Regions from separate parts of the Homo sapiens genome. Here region 2 is linked to region 1. Evidence: promoter capture Hi-C in 16 types of primary human blood cells and fetal thymus (Javierre and others, 2016). All regions are on one chromosome and are shown on one strand. Each heading gives the region's core, a stretch centred on a gene start or on the middle of the fragment in contact. The rest is flanking DNA. Distances are from core to core; before and after follow the strand shown.

Region 1 (7,895 bases), core at 1,467-3,966:
AATCAAGTAAAAGACAACTTTGGGTTGTATATGGCTCCAGCTTGAAATTGCATATACATATTCTTATAAAAATTTTTGAATTATGATTCTAAAATTACTCAGGGGAATGACTGGAGTTTTTATATAGTAGTTAATCACTTTCATTACATATATTGTTTTTTCTGTAGATTAGACATATTTCCACAATTTAAATTAATGAATTTTATTACTTTAAATTATTTTTTTTCACAGGTTTCTTTTCTAAAATCCAGGCAATGTAAATTACATATCATTATGAAACCATTGTTTGGGAAACCAGTGTGGCATCTGCAATCCCAATATTTCAAAATATTATTGGAACCAAAAATTGAACCATGCTTTGCAGTATATTGTTTGAAGTATTTAAGCAAAGGATGTATTCTTAATTATTCGAGTTACAGTGTGCCACTTAACTTTATTTCAAGCGAGGTATATTTTGGGAGAATTCTTTATGAAAATCAAGATAACTTGAATCTAGCACTTTTTCCTTATCTTTTCAAAATTAAATATTTTCAACAGTAATGCTAATGATTAGGTAAAGTGTCAGTAATAGATTGTTAAAACATTAATATTCAATACTTTACGCATAGAAATATCAGTGTATTCCATTTTTTAGTTCCACATACTTAAAAATATTATTTATTTAATGACCACCATTATAGAACAATGCATTAACTTTTTTGTATGTGACTTGGGATAGAAGTCTTAGATACTAAGTGCATTCATACTTATATTTTAATCTATATTTTTCTTCTGGAACATTATTAGTAAATTTTGAGATTATAGAACTGTTGACCCAGTCATACATGTACAGAGCTTGGCCTCCGAGTTAATTAAATATGAGTTAATAATATATTATAAGGAAATTATTGTCCTTATTACAGTTATTAGGTAGTTACTCAAATTATAGCTTGAAAGGAATGCAGAGCATGGAAAACTCAGGATTAAATTATGCATTTGAACCTTAGGCCAGTTTTTACTGTAGAGACAGTTTGCTGCTAAAAGAGAAATTGTATGTCATTGAAATTAAATGCTTTTCTGGGGATGGAAGATTCCAGTTTTTAATGAAATTACTGAGTGTGGTGTAGTGAAATGATTAAAATCTGTATTCCGGGAATGTGGCAGGGAAAAAAAATCAATAAGTGCTAGCACAGCTTTGCTGCTCAATGTGAATCCTGAGAATGAAATAAACTACTACAAAAATAATAATTAAAAACATATCAGCACATTAATTTATTTAGCATCAGTCTCCTGAGACATCATCTTCACTAATTTTTAGCATACATTTTACTCTGTAATGAGCAGCCTTCTTTTCAGATATCCCTATTAGACAGGCAGTATTTCTGCCCTTCCCCCAGTGCTCCTGCATTGCAATCATTGTACTTGCACTTATTATGTTACAAATGACCGAGGTAAGGCTGACATTCTCAGTGCATGCAAAAAGACCGAGTCTGCCAAGCTTTTTTTTTTTCCTAATGAAGCAGCTTTGTGAAATCTCCCCATGTGTTAATACTAATGAAGATCCTCCAGCACAATTAAAATCACAGCCAGTGGCTGAAGAGGAAACATAAAACAATAGCATCTTTTAAGATACATTTATCCACATATGTATAAAATATACATAGATGATCAAATTATTCTCCGATAGCTTAATTTTTACTTACTCTTCATCCTGAAAATTAAATTATGCAATTTTTAATTATATGAACTTTGAGACTTTCTTGTGTTCTGGAGGGAAAAAACGGTACCTCAACGAACTTCTAAAAAAAAAAATACGTATCTTCTTGGCTAATAAAGTGTTATCAAGATTAAGGCTTTTAAAAAAATTGTTTTTAGGAATCTATAGGATGGGGTGCGGGAGGGAATGGGGCCTATTGTATCTTTAGTTTAACTTGATTGGTTGCAGGATTTGGGAATTGGGGTTGGGGGAGTGGAAGGGTAAAAACAAAGTTGGAAGAGATTCTGGGGGTAGACCATAGCATATGACTGCATTTGTAGTTTAAAGGAGCAAAGGGCTACCAGTCTTACTCATAACTTGATTTTTAAAAAGTGTTCAGTGCCTACAATTTGCTATGCTTTTTTTCTAATCTCTCAGAAACTTGAAAAAAAGCTATCGAGATTACCTTTTACAGTGTGTGCATATAACTTTAAAACGACTATTTTAACGTCTTTTATTTAAATTTTATTTTAACTTAGTGCATAAACATTACAGCCAGTTTAACTTGTCCGTGGAAAGGCAGTAGAATTTTACCCCGGGACCGTCTTGCATACTGCTTTTTTTGAGTTTTAACATCCGCAAAATCTTGGCATATTAATTTAGTTGGGTTGTAGAATTCTGAGTTTAGGAACAAAAAAAATTTAGGTGGAGATGGTTGACCTATGCTCCCTACTCTGTAGCTTTTGTTTTTTTAAAAACTAAGTTTTAAATCCCGTTTTCTGTCCTGTCTTCTTTAAAAGCAAAACAAAACATTTTAAGTTTCTTAACTTTTTCCTGGGACAAGGAACGGTGCAAACTCAAAGCTACAGTATTCTTGGAAAGAAGAAGCAACCCCCTCCCTTGGCTCCTTTAGGAGCTGATAGGTCATTTATTATTGGAACTGAAATGGTATAAACAATTCTCTCTCTTTTTTTCCCTTGTTAACAGCAACTTTCATTGTTAGAGAGAGGAGAGAGAGAGAAGCCTTGTTGGTTGACGTCACTTGGTTCATGAAGCCTTCGCCTAGAAGTGAAGCTGCTGAACAAACCTTGAGAAGAATCATCTCCTGCTTCAATCTGCTGCTGGATAGGAACTAATCAGAGAGAGAGAGGCGGAAGACGGAGAAGGAGGGAGTCGAAGGCTTTCCCGATCACAAATCTCACCTCCACTACAACTCTCTTTATACTTTTCTTGCAGAAATAATAATAGAAATAAGGAGGTGGTGGGGTTTCCAAAAATCTTAACCTTCAACCATCTGGGGAAAAGGCAAAAATCCCATCTACCGCAACTCTCAGTTCGAGAGTAAAGGTGAGTTTAAAATCCTCGGGCGTGAGGGGTGCGGGTGAGGATGTAAATTCCCAGTGTTACAAAGCCGGTGGAAACAGCAGCGGAGAAACTGCGCTCGGGCAAGCGGGGGACTCCGGAGTTGCTGCGTGGAGGCGCTCGCCCCGCCGCCCTCTCGCCCTCCGCCGCTGTTTATCCTCGCCGGTCGGTGCGGCTCTTTGTTGTGGTGGCCGGAAGGCTGGGGTGGTTCTCGGGGTCCCGAGTGGAGTTTGGGGGAGGAGGACACGGAGATGTGCCGTCCTGGGTGGGAGGTGGGGGGTGCGGCCTCAGGAGAACGTAAACTTTATTCCTAGAAGCCGGTGCGGGACTTCGCTGGAGTAGGGCCGTGGGTTGTGCTCCCGGCCGGGCAGGCGCTGCCGCCGCGAGTCCGCCGCCTTTGTGCCGGCCGCCCTGGCTTCGCGTCTCCTTCCTCTTCCCCTTCGGCTTCCAGCGCTCAGGTCGCCGCCAACAGTTTTGCTTCTTAAAAAACAACCTCTGTCAGCGTTGCGATGGCCGTTCCTACCCCGGAATATCCGCTGCTCCCCCACTCCCTGCCGGGGTAGTTTCTGGATCACCCCCCACCCCCGTCCGCCTCCTGCTGCCCTTTTTTGCCTCCGCCCCCTCTTCCCTGTCGGACTGACGAGCTGCGTCTGCCACCCCCACTCCCCGGCTTGGGCCTCTAGCTCTCCCGTGTGTAGCTGGAGGCTCTGAGTTTACTGAAGATGAGCGGGGGTGGGGGTGGGGCAGGTGGGATTGGGAAAAGATCTGGATACCTGGGAAGGTCTATGTCAGCACGCAGAAGGTTTGAGGAGCATTGCTTCTCATACAGTAAGGTCTGTGCCTTGGTCTCATGTTTTAGCAGTTCTTCCCCGGGAACGACCGCCAGCTCCCAACTCCTCTGCTTCCCTCTTTTAATCTTCTTGTCGCTACCCCTCCCCCCAGCCCCCGTTCTCTTTCGCGGCTCCCTCCCCTTTAAGTAGTTTCACGAACCCCAGAATTGGGATTTGAGAAGGGGAAGGAAGTGTTTGAAGAGTCAGAGCTGGCTCTGTTGTTTGGGAGATTTTCTCTTCTTTTCTTTCTCCCTCTGTATTTATCTTTTGTCTGTTGCTTCCTTATAAAGAGGGAAGCAGCTGCAGTCCTTGGCCGAGTTGTTGAAATTTATCCCTTTGTGTATATTACAATATCCTCCATTTTTTTTCCTGCCCTCTAAACAACAAGCGTTTCGCCATCTTGGGCAATTTTATTCCCAAGTCTCTCTCTTTTTTATTTTTGAGGAAAGGAAAGAAGTATTAGGAAGTGTGTCTGGATAAGTCTCAAAGTTTAGGGAATGTTCAGGGGGCCCAGTGACGTCATGTAAACTTTACGGAGAAATTTTCCCAAGAGTAAATTTTTTGCTTAATTTTTCTCCTGTTTTATAGGATTGTGTAACTTACAGGTTACTGATAAGTTGTGTGGCTTATTTTTGTGTTTTGCTCTCAAAATCAGTATACGAAGTCTGCGTATTGTATGTTTTGGTAACAGGTGGAAGATTATATGCAAAAAATGGTAAAAAACTTGTGCGTCATTTGTTATTTATCTGGTTTTTGTGTACTTTTTTTTTTAATTTAAAGGTTTCAACTGTTATCTGTAGTCAGTATATTCCCTTTCTTATTTGCTCCACTCTCCCTTATGGATTTTTTGAAAATTAGCTTGGTTAATATTTATGTATGGTTATTTTAGATTATCTGGCTCCCCGTTTCTAATAAAATGTTCTGGGGTTTTCTTTTTCTATTATTTATTTACATTTTGAAAAGAAATGACTATGGAAAATACCTTAAGATAATGGATACTTTAAAATTTAGTAGCAGATATTAAGTCAAACAATTATTGAGTATTTAAGAGGCAGAATTGATTTTAAAAGTTATTTTATAATCGCTAGCTATAAACTCTTTGTCAGCCATTATGAACAGATAAACAAAAACTAGCACTGTTTTAATTTGCTTGTCTAACATAGTTTTTCGCCTCACAAAAGTTGGTTTGGTCACATGACCAAGCTTAATGATACACTGACTAGTATATAAATAAGAGGCACTGTATATTGAATGGGAAAGTGGAATTCTGTCTCCTGTAGTCATTTTCAGTCAGCATATTTACATCTCTTCTAACAAGGACATGAAACTGTCTGTATTTAATTTGCATTCTCTTTGTCTTCTGGGTTGAGGGAAAAACACTGACTACAATTAACTTAAAAAAAGCTAATAGAAACAATTCTGAATACATTGAAAAGGTTTGTGTAACACACAGAAATTTATGTTCTATATGGTAAGTTTTTATTTCTGTAGCAGTCTTCTTTGGTGTTATCTATTTATCCAGGAATTTGCTTCATGTAATATGCTATATAGAAAGCTTGACTGAGTTGAGTGTCTGCCATTTATGTGAATTGTAGGTAGGTGAAAAATGTTTAAATAGTTAAAAGCACATAGAACAGATGGTTCTAAATTATACATGCAACAAAGGACTAGAAGATTTGGCAGATTATAAATGGCAAGCAACAGAGGATAAGCAGTTTAAGAAAATGGTAGTTAAGTACATTTGATGTCTCACACCTATTGTAAACACTGTACATATTATTGTCACTCTGCTGCATAATCAGTAATTTGGACAACATTAAGACACTCGTATGGTTCAGATAGAAAAAAGTAATTTTTACAAGTATTTGAAACAAGTGGTTGAATTTAAAATTATTTTAAGCCTACGATGATGAAGAGTCTTTTTTTTTTTTTTTTTTAGAAAATCAGATTGTATGCTTTAAAAATACAAAGTTATTTATGAGAACTTAATATTGTGTTCTTATAATGGTTGGAGAGAAACAGGAATGGGTACATATTTTAAAATCCAGATAATAGTAGCTTCACTGTTCTCACATGTTAAACTAGTGCCGAATTGTAGTACCATTTACTCTTACAAACACTAATGAAAAAATACTTCTAAACTCTTCAGTCTTGGAAATGCATTTATTGGAATACTGCTGGCATCATTTATGAAATACTTATTAAATGAAGGAAGGATATATTTTAGTTTTAATTTTTGAGTTTTATACATAACATTATGATACTGATTTTACTTGAATATTGTTTATTTACAATTTTTAGAATAGATGGATTCTTATGCAGGTTTTTTCTTTCTAGAACAGTCTCTGAGTAATTATATTTAGCATTTTCAAAAAATTGGGAATAGCTTAAAGTATTCAACTTGGTAGAAATTTGTTTTTATTTTTTATAAGCCATTCATTTAAAATGCACATAAGACTGTAATGGAAACCTTAGAATTTTAATTCTGTTGCCCTTTCTCCCATTTCTTTGTTTGCATGTTTATTATAGAACTGCAGTGTAAAGGAGCAGATGTTTTGCCAAACATCCTGATGTGTTGCTTTTTCTTATGGGAGTGCATAACTGTTCCTTCTGATGCATCAACTTGACAGCTGGTTGATTTCATGGAGCTGCTAAGAAGCCATTAGTGGTGTCATTGAATTGAAACAGAACAGTCATTCCCAGCTTGAACTGCAATTGTTAATGTCTTTGTTGCTACTTTTGTGTTACTATACAAGATGTAGGATATCACAGTTGCATGAAAGTTCAGGATTTCTGTCTTATCTCCTTGAATTAGTGAAAGTATATTTTGGAACTTGATTACTTTTAGGTTTAAAGGTTTCTCAGAGAAGGGATCTTAAGTTGTAGTTTCTGAGTAGAACTACCAAAAGAAGAGATATGATTTAGCACAAATTAATATGGTGATTTTGACCCTTAAGAGGAATTACGTCATCAAGTTTTAGTGATTATTAATATATTTGATTTCCTGGGGGATTAATTAAGTTACCTAGTTAGGTATTTTAAGAGTTTTTTTGGTTACATAAAATTAAGTATTTTTTACCATGAAGTTTTAAAAATACTGTTGCCTTTTTAATAAATGTTAATCCATTTGGCTGTTTCTTTAAACTTTTGTTCTAGGAAGTAATCACAAAAGAAAAGAAATAATTATTGGGGAAAGAGGCAGTTTTGTATTTAATTTTTCTTTATAATGAGGCTAAAATGTTATTTAAAAATTCATACAAACTATGATCTAAAATAACTTACTAGTAGACATTTAATGATTTTTAAAAAATGAAATTATATTTTTATTGTTATAACTTTTATTGATAGTTTCAGCTATCATACTAAAATGTGTGATACTAAATATGTGATACTAAAATGGTGTCATACTAAATATGTGATACTAAAATGGTGTCATCCCATTGGTGCCTACATATATTCTACTTTTTCTAATTATTTGCATGGTGTTTTTTGGTGGTAGAGGAAATGGGAGGGAGAAAAGAGGAAGAATGAAAAGTGATAATCCCAACACAGAAACATCCATTAAAAAATTCATGTAAATAAGATTTAAGGATATAATATAGTTTATTTATTACTATGTTAAGAGAATTTTTCTAGTCCCAATATTTATTGACTTTTAATTTGTAGGTCTTTAGGTGTATTAGGCATTTAAATAATTCTTCAAAGAGCATAAAATTTGTAACACTTAAAATAATTTGCCATTACAAAAATAAATACTTAAAATATGAAATTGATTAGAATATATAATTTGCTCAAAACTTCCTCTACAATATAAATTTTTAACACTTATGCCATTGATTCCAGAATTATGATTTCCTGAAATCAAAGTTTATAGGGACCCTTTCCTTTTAAATAGGTTGTACATTACTGACTAAAGCTAAGATTTATATTCAGACATTATGCTTTCTCAACCCTTTTTACATAGTAGCCATACAACTCCTTAAAAAGAAAATCATTCTGTTACCTTTGACTATGACTCAATATTTAAG
Region 2 (7,895 bases), core at 1,497-3,996, 2.4 Mb after region 1:
TCATCTATAACAGTGGATTTTGGGGAAATGAATAGGCCAAAAAGGAAGATATTCTCCAAAACTCTTAAAATTTAAAGGTTGCAGTAGGATGCTACTCCAGCTAATTTTAAGCTAGCCCTCCTGTATTCTTACAGTTATTTCTCTCTCTCTTTCTTTCACACACATGTACTCATTTTCTTATTCTATTTTATAACAATTTCCCCTTATGCTGACTTCGAAAACTTATTATCTTAAAAAATCTTATTGCATGCATTCCTGTAAGCAGCTACCTCAAACGCTTTTTGAGCCAGGCTGAAAATAAATAAAGCCAAATTTAAAAAAACAAAAACAAAAAACACTCCAAATCTTGCCAAACTGATGAATCAAATGTTTTTTGATTGTATTTTCTTTAACCTTTATCTATATGAATACATAATTTACACATATTTATAGTCAAGGTGTTTGGGTAAAAGAACAAAAAATGATTTATCCTCTTTCAAAGAAGAGGACTACAAAAGGACTGAAAAATACTTTGGGAGGCCCCAGGTCCAGGATCCCTGGTGGTAGACCCCTGAGTGGAGCGTAGCATCCGCCAGGCAGCTTGAGACACACCTATATTTAGCCAAGGTGGGTTATGTGATAAGAGGGAGGAGGCCTGGCCACATGCTCTCTGACTCATCCTCTCAAGCACATGTGTCAATTTTTCCTACAGTTGGGACAACCTCCTTCAGAAGACAGAGCCTGACTGTAACTTTCCTGGGCTGCAATGCTTAACTTCTACAGAACAAAGTATAGAAACTAAGAAGCACTGGGAGTCCCCGAGCTTTCAATGAGCCACACTAGTGATAACATCGTTATTACTTGCTTTGAGCACCCCCACCCCCGCCACGCATGTGCCTTTTCTCTGGTTTGGAACTGGAGCTTGTGCTTCTGTGCAGTGTCTAATTCCTCCCCAGACTCCCTAGCAGCCTGCCAGGTCAATAAGGGCATGTTAAAATGAAACTGCTTTAACGGCTACTTCATTTCCTTGCACTTTGTGTTCAAAGCTGGCATGTGTAATCCTGTGATACACAGGACTTTAGATTAGAGCTGGGCCAACACAATTTTTAGGATCCTTTTTGAGGGGAGATTGGCAAGAGATGGAAGAGAGTGCAGAATAATTTTGAGCATGAATTTTAATCATTTCTCTACAATGACTAGCTTTGTGACCACAGGCAATCTAGCATCCCAGGGCCTCAGTTTCCTCATCTTTGAGTATGTCTGCATTCTCCTCAAGACTGTGATTATCACCAGGGTGAGAAGCGTGAATGGCACAGTGCTTGGTATAAGCAGTGCATGGCTGATAGCTGTTTGCTGATGGCTAAGAGATGGAAAACGACCTGGTTGTAGCCGACATCACAATGAAGAGACTCTTCTTTCTAATGTGGATAAAGCTTCTCCTGTATCTGCCTTCCTCCTAGTAACACTGACTAAAATGTAATGCTGACTACCTAGATCACAAAGAAGAATTTTCTACAGAAGCCAAACAAGGCCATTGTTTACATGCCACATGTGCTAAGTCTCAATCTTGACATTCCCCAATCCAACTTCCTGGCAAATATTGTTTGACTTAGGGAACTGAGTTAACAGATATTGAACATACGGCTGTTGAGTACCTTCACTTATCAGTGGGCCAAGAAAAAAAATGCCAGGAACCCAATTATATTTGAATCAGATTAAATATCTATGTTTTGATCCACATCTGGTGATATAGTTATAGGAATTTAACTTTTTGAAGGACTGGTTACTGAAGGCCCATTGGGCAGCTTTAGAACTGCATTACCTTGAGAAAGTGTTGTAACTTCTGAGCGCCCTCGCCAGCTTGTTAATTTGAACCATAATGACTGCCTCCTCCTTTGCAGGGCTCATATGGAGTTCATCTATGTGTATGCAGGCTCTTTGTAAATAGTGAATGTCTACAAATATAAGTGATTATTATTATGCTTTTTATACCTCCTGTAGGTGTTTGCTGGTCATGGACTGATTGACTTTTTCCAACATTATGATTCCTATGTAACTGATCTCCTGAAATATCTACCATCTCCACCTATAAAGGAGATTAAATTTTAGGGAGTAAAGTCACTTCTCTTGCTATCCTGCTTATCATTACTTATGATTAGGCAGAATTCTGCTGGTTAAGATATGATTCCAGGGAGGCCTAGAAGAGTCCTTCTGTGTGCTTCTTTCCCAAATATATTCCTGACAAACTTGCTAATAATGAAAAGTTCCAAAATTGGGAATTCACTTCATTGTCACTATTCTAATGGAATTACACTTTAAGCTCTACCATTTATATACACGTTATTATGAACTGAGTTCATCTAATCATTTTAATAGGTTTTCAACAGAGGGAAGAAAATTGAACATGAGCTAATGGTAGGGACCAAAGTCTCAGAGAACAAGAACTCTGCAACTGCTAATAAGAGAATTTTTGTCTCTGTAGCTGGTGAAATATTTGAATGATATCCAATGATTAATGTTTCTTTAATTCTCTAGGTGACCAAAAATCACACAGAATTATCTAGCAATAAATCCTCTTTACATAACAGCCAAAGCACTTGGGGTTGAGGAAAGAGAAGAGAAATAGGTCTTACCCAGCAGGTCTGGTGTCTTCAATGGCTCTATCCACTGGGATCAAATCGCTAAGGTAGACATTGAAGTTTCCTTCTTTCCATCTTCTTTCTGCCTCCTTCTCCTTTCCATGGGGGACAACTACAGGACGCCCAAACTGCCCTGGAGCTTTGGGGTCCCTTGGAGAAAGTGTCACATCAATTCTTAACACCTGGTGCGTTCCACTGTCTTCAGGTAAAAGGGCTTTTATATGACTCTGGTTGTATTCTGTAGAGGGGGCTTTGGCAGTTATGTTGATTTTTGCTGGCTCTAGCCCTCCAGTTAAAGCATGGTTAGTTTGGGACAGTGGCACTCTATGTGGAGCAAGTGAAGAGGAAGACATCTCACTTCTATTCCTGGAAATGTGTTTACTTTGGCTTTTACCCAATACTTTAGGAAATATTGTTTTGGTTTTAGAATTAGAGACCTCTTTGGGGTCTGCCTTTTGCTCTTCCTCTTTGGTTATAATCACAAGATGGCTTTCAGAGAAATTGAGTTTCTTCCCATGAGCCCCTCTAGCTCCATCATCCTTTGACAAACTTCCCAAAGGTGTCTCATTAATAGATTGCTTCCTTAAGCGATTTGAATTGACAGTGAACTTAGGAAAAGGAAGACTCGTATTGGCTTTGTGTTTATTTGCATTGACTTCTTTGCTCTGAGTCTTAGTTTTGTTTAAGGCCATGGCTTCCCCAGACTTCGGCACTGCTGTGCTGGCAGGGTGTGCCCTCTCGTTTGCTACTGCCTGTGATCGCTGCTTTGGTCTATCAGTACTAAGACTGATGGTCACATTCAAGTCCCTTTCAGCTGCTAGTTTTGATGTGTCACTGCTGGGACTATGACTCTTCCGGGGCTCCTGTTTTAAACTGACACGTCCCATGTGTACTGATATTTTGACTACCTGAGTTCCTTTTGCTGCTATGAATGAGGTCTTTGGAGCCCCCTGAGCTGTCGTTTGCTTTGGTGTCCCCTGGTGAGAGGAGGCTTCAGGTTTGGTGCCTCTCCCGTCTGTCTTCTGCTTGTTAGGAGTCACAGGGAGGGTCTGCAGATGTGCAGGATGCCACAACGGCACAACCTTGCCCCTTCCCAGGGCATTCTGCATTTTTCTTTCCCTCTGGGTTTGGTCCAAGTCCACCTCAACCTTGAGCACACTCTCCTCAGTTTTTCTAACATTCTCTTTGCCCCATGCCCCTTTCCCATGTCCCCTTAGGGGAGGTTTCATCTCTTTTATGCTGCTGTAAAAAATTTTTCCTTGGTCTGGCTGAACTCTGAATCCTATCCGCTCCCTCCTCACAATGTCTTCCTTGATGACCCGAGTGTTGATCTCACTGAATGAGAGGCGGAGAGCTGCCATGTCAAAGAGGAGCCAGATGACAGAAGCTACAAAGATAAATGCCAAGACTCGCCCACTTCCTCGGAAAAACTTTCGGATCCTGTTCATGGTACAAAGCTTTCCCTAGCAGCCTGCCCTCCCTTAGCCTGCTTACCTTGAGTGGAGAGGAAGCTGAAGTAGCAGCAGCAGCAGCAGCAGCAGCAGAGTTGCCAGAAAGTGACCCCCTCCCCTGAACACAGCAGGAAGCAGCAGTCCAAGGGGAAAGCTCAGTTCCTACCGCTTGTCAGTCTCTGCCTGCGTGGCATTTCATAGCAGAGCATCTGTGCCTGCTTGGCTGGCCCTGGCTAAGTTCTGATAAACACTGGCCTTAGGTCACTCCAGGAGCAGTTGATTCCAGCCACCGAACAGTTCAACATATCACTTGTCTTGTCTCCGGGAGCCCATGTCCACCTTCCTACAAGCCCAAGAAAAGGTGGGGGCCAGATTGAGACTGCCGTTTCTCTCCTCCCCGTTCTCCGTCTGCACGCTGTAACTCAACACCACTTCTCATAAGGAAAACATTTCATGCCATTACCCAGAAAACTTCATTCAGCTCTCACCTTCTGTGTTATGTGAGAGCATGTGTGTTTAAACGGCAATTAAAGAGGAAAAAAAGCTATCTAACTTGGAGGGCATGTGTTCCTGGTTTGTGACCCCACCTACCCTACTCCTGCTCATTAACCCTGTTGTAGCCAGGTGCCAATGCTCTGCCTGAGGAATTTATCACTGAAGTTAACATTTCAGCTTTAAGACATAACAGCTTAAAGAAGGGGCCTGGTATATCCTCACTTCCAGAGATGTATATGTTTAATTATTTAGATCATTCATTCAAGGGGTTTCAATGTATTTCTTTGTAAGCCAACTATTTTTTTTTCACTAATCCATCTGTTTTTATTATTACATTTGATTACAAATAAACTTAATTTGTCATACTGCTATAAAAGTTTCTAAACACTTTGTTATGGTCTGAATGTTTATGTCCACCCAAAATTCATATGTTGAAACCTAATCATAAATGTGATAGTATTAGGAGGTAGGGCTTTTGAAGGTGATTTCATTATAAGGATAGAGCCCTCATGAATGGGATCAGCACCCTTAAAAAAGAGGCCCTATTGCCTTGCCATTCCACAAAGTGAAGACATAATGAGAAGGTGCCATCTATGAACCAGGAAATGGGCCTTCACCAGTCAACGAATCTGCTGGTGCCTTGATTTCTGACTTCTCAGTCTCTAGAACTGTGAGAAATAAGTTTCTGTTGTTTATGAGTCACTTAGTCTATGTTATTCTTCTATAGTAGCCTGAACAGATTAAGATACACTTACTCTCAGTTTCAGTACTTATCTCGTCTTAAACCAGCAAGCAACAGTTTCAGGACCACACCAGGACTTGGACCAGATTTTGAGTGATGCTGGTTGACTGGTAGGGTAGCAGTTCCGCCACAGGCTTTTCATTAGAACCACTTGAAACAAGATCCCCAAAACTCTGGTCAATTGATGAGAGAGGAGGTGGAGATGACATTTGGGCTGATATTGTATTAAATATATATATATATATATATATATATATATATATATATATATATTTTTTTTTTTTTTTTTTTTTTTACAAAGCTTCCCAGGTCTTTCAAATGTGCAGCTAAAGTTGAGAAACACTGGTCTAGAAAAAAAGTCTCAATTTTTTGTTTGTTTGTTTTTGGTTTTTGAACATTGCCTATGAGACATTTAATTTTAGGTGTCTACTTGACTGGGCTAAGGAACACCCAGAGAACCAGTAAAGCATTATTTTTAGGTATATCTGTGAGGGTGTTTCCAGAAGAGATTGGCATTTGACTCAGTGCACTGAGTGGGGAGGAGATGCCCTCACCCAATGTGGGCAGGCACCACTAATTGGTTGAGGGCCCAGATAGAAAAAAAGGCAGAGGAAAGGTGGATTCTGTCTCTGTTAGTGAGCTGGGACATCTTTCTTCTTCTGCCTTTGGACTAGAACTTTAGATTCTCTGGCTTTGGCCTCTGGGGCTTGTACCAGTCTGCCCCCACAACCTCCACATCCCTCACTAGGTTCTCAGGCTTTTGACCTCAGACTGAGAGTGATGTTATTGGCTTCCCTGGTTCTCAGGCCTTTGGACTCAGAATGTGCCATGTTACTGGCTTTCCTGGTTCTCCAGCTTGCAGGTGGCCTGGACTGAGGTTTCTCAGTCTCCATAACCACATGAGCCAATTCCTGTAATAAACTGCAACTCACTTATCTACCTCTATGAATCCTATTGGTTCTGTTTCTCTGAAAAATCCTGGCCAATACAGTCTACAACTTGTGTGACATTCCTTCCCTGTCTAAAGTACAGTCTAATAAAATCTATGCATTCCCATAACAACTAAATCAGAATACACATTTTGACATTGCCAGTTGTAAAGATTGTCCATAGAGTTTGAGAAGCACTTCTCGGGACCACTGTCCTTCTCTCTGAGGAACTCTGAGTGATTTGTGGACAACACTGCTGTTCATTACTCTAGTGTGGGGAGGGTCTAGCTTCCATGCTTTGAGGTAAACTTATGTTCCCAATGACTTGGGAGGGGAAGGAGAGATTCCAAATTCATATATATATCTCAAGCACTTTGCTAAGTTCTTTCCATTGACTATCTCACTCAATCCTCACAAGAATCTAATGTGAAGGAGTAAATTACAATATGTATTTTGTAGTCAGCAAATGAAACCTTAGAGAGGTAAAGCAACTTCTGGTAGAGATTGGAGGGGTTGGGTCTTGAATACACGACTGTAGTCCGTGTGCTTCAATATCACACAATACTGCTCTCTAGCTGTATGATCTTGCAGGCTAGTTAATTTTATGTGGTTACTGAGCAATAAAAAAAAATTCTGCTTTGCAGATTAATGTGAGAATATTTAAAAATGGTTAAAGTTATTGTTATATTGAAGGTACTCTTTAAATGTTAGCCATTCATATTGTTGCTAATACTTTGCTGTAATAGGAGTGTCGGATGCATGTGGGAGGCAATGTACCAGCTCTTCCCAAAAAAACAAGTAGAAAACTAGTGACTAACATGATTCTGGCAATGGGGAAGAAACAAATCTGAGTATTTTATTTTATTCTTGCCATTCTTATTTCCTCTAATTATAGATTTAACAAGACCATTGTTCACTGAGAACTCCCTACATGCCCAAAACATGAAGTAGGTGACATTGTCTCTGCCCCTAACAACCTTAAAACTCCCCTCAGTAGAACGCCACCAGTATAATAATAATAATAATAAAAAAAGAACGCCACCAGCAAAAAACATAGCACACATCTTTAGCATCCACATTCGAAAATAAAGTGAGAATTTTTTTTAGCATCATGGATAAATGGTTTGCATTACAATATTGTTTTAAACATGAAAATAGAATACTTTAAAATTATTTTACTCTGCATGATTCAATCTTGTCCAGCCACCATCCCACCCCAAATGGCAGTTGGAATTACTCAAATGTCTTTTAGGAAAGTCAACACTTGTTATATTCTATGCTTGGCAGTTTAAAACACTGCTTGAAATATATTCTTGTTTCCATATAAATTTTATCAAAGAGTACTGATTTCTTTTTATCCCTCTCTGGTTTGTCCTTGCGAATCAAAACACAAATTACTTGCAACAGGAGAGCAACATGTTAAGAAAATTAAAAGGGAATCTTGGCTTATCTATCATGGGTAAAGCAACACATTAACTCTGGCTTAGTCTTCGGTCTATTTGACATACAATTCAGAATGAAATGTGAAGAGTGGGTAGGAGAGTAAGGAAACATTGATTAAATATCCTAGAAATGGAGGAGTAGATTTGTTGTCAGACCTGGTCTAAAGTACTGACTTGGCCACTAATAGCCATATGACTATGGATGTGTCACACATGGA

What was found. The method cuts DNA at HindIII sites, captures the fragments that hold promoters and counts their contacts. A CHiCAGO score of 5 or more calls a contact.
Region 2: a contact is called between a fragment that was not itself captured here and the fragment with the promoter of BAZ2B in region 1, in 1 of 17 cell types (erythroblasts). The highest score is 5.4, in erythroblasts.

Annotation. Positions count from the first base shown.
Region 1 is chr2:159,611,369-159,619,263 of GRCh38, reverse strand. It overlaps BAZ2B (bromodomain adjacent to zinc finger domain 2B), which reads left to right and starts at 2,716. Exons shown (of 37, transcript NM_013450.4): 1 at 2,716-3,022. BAZ2B-AS1 (BAZ2B antisense RNA 1) reads right to left here and starts at 3,970. Exons shown (of 2, transcript NR_110588.1): 1 at 3,811-3,970; 2 at 1,222-3,514. RefSeq lists enhancers at 2,627-2,696, 2,947-3,026, 2,654-3,180, 4,237-4,765. The HindIII fragment of the contact is 3,593 bases long and covers 1,480-5,072 here.
Region 2 is chr2:157,254,254-157,262,148 of GRCh38, reverse strand. It overlaps GALNT5 (polypeptide N-acetylgalactosaminyltransferase 5), which reads right to left and starts at 4,444. Exons shown (of 10, transcript NM_014568.3): 1 at 2,613-4,444. The coding sequence starts at 4,066. The HindIII fragment of the contact is 2,663 bases long and covers 1,415-4,077 here.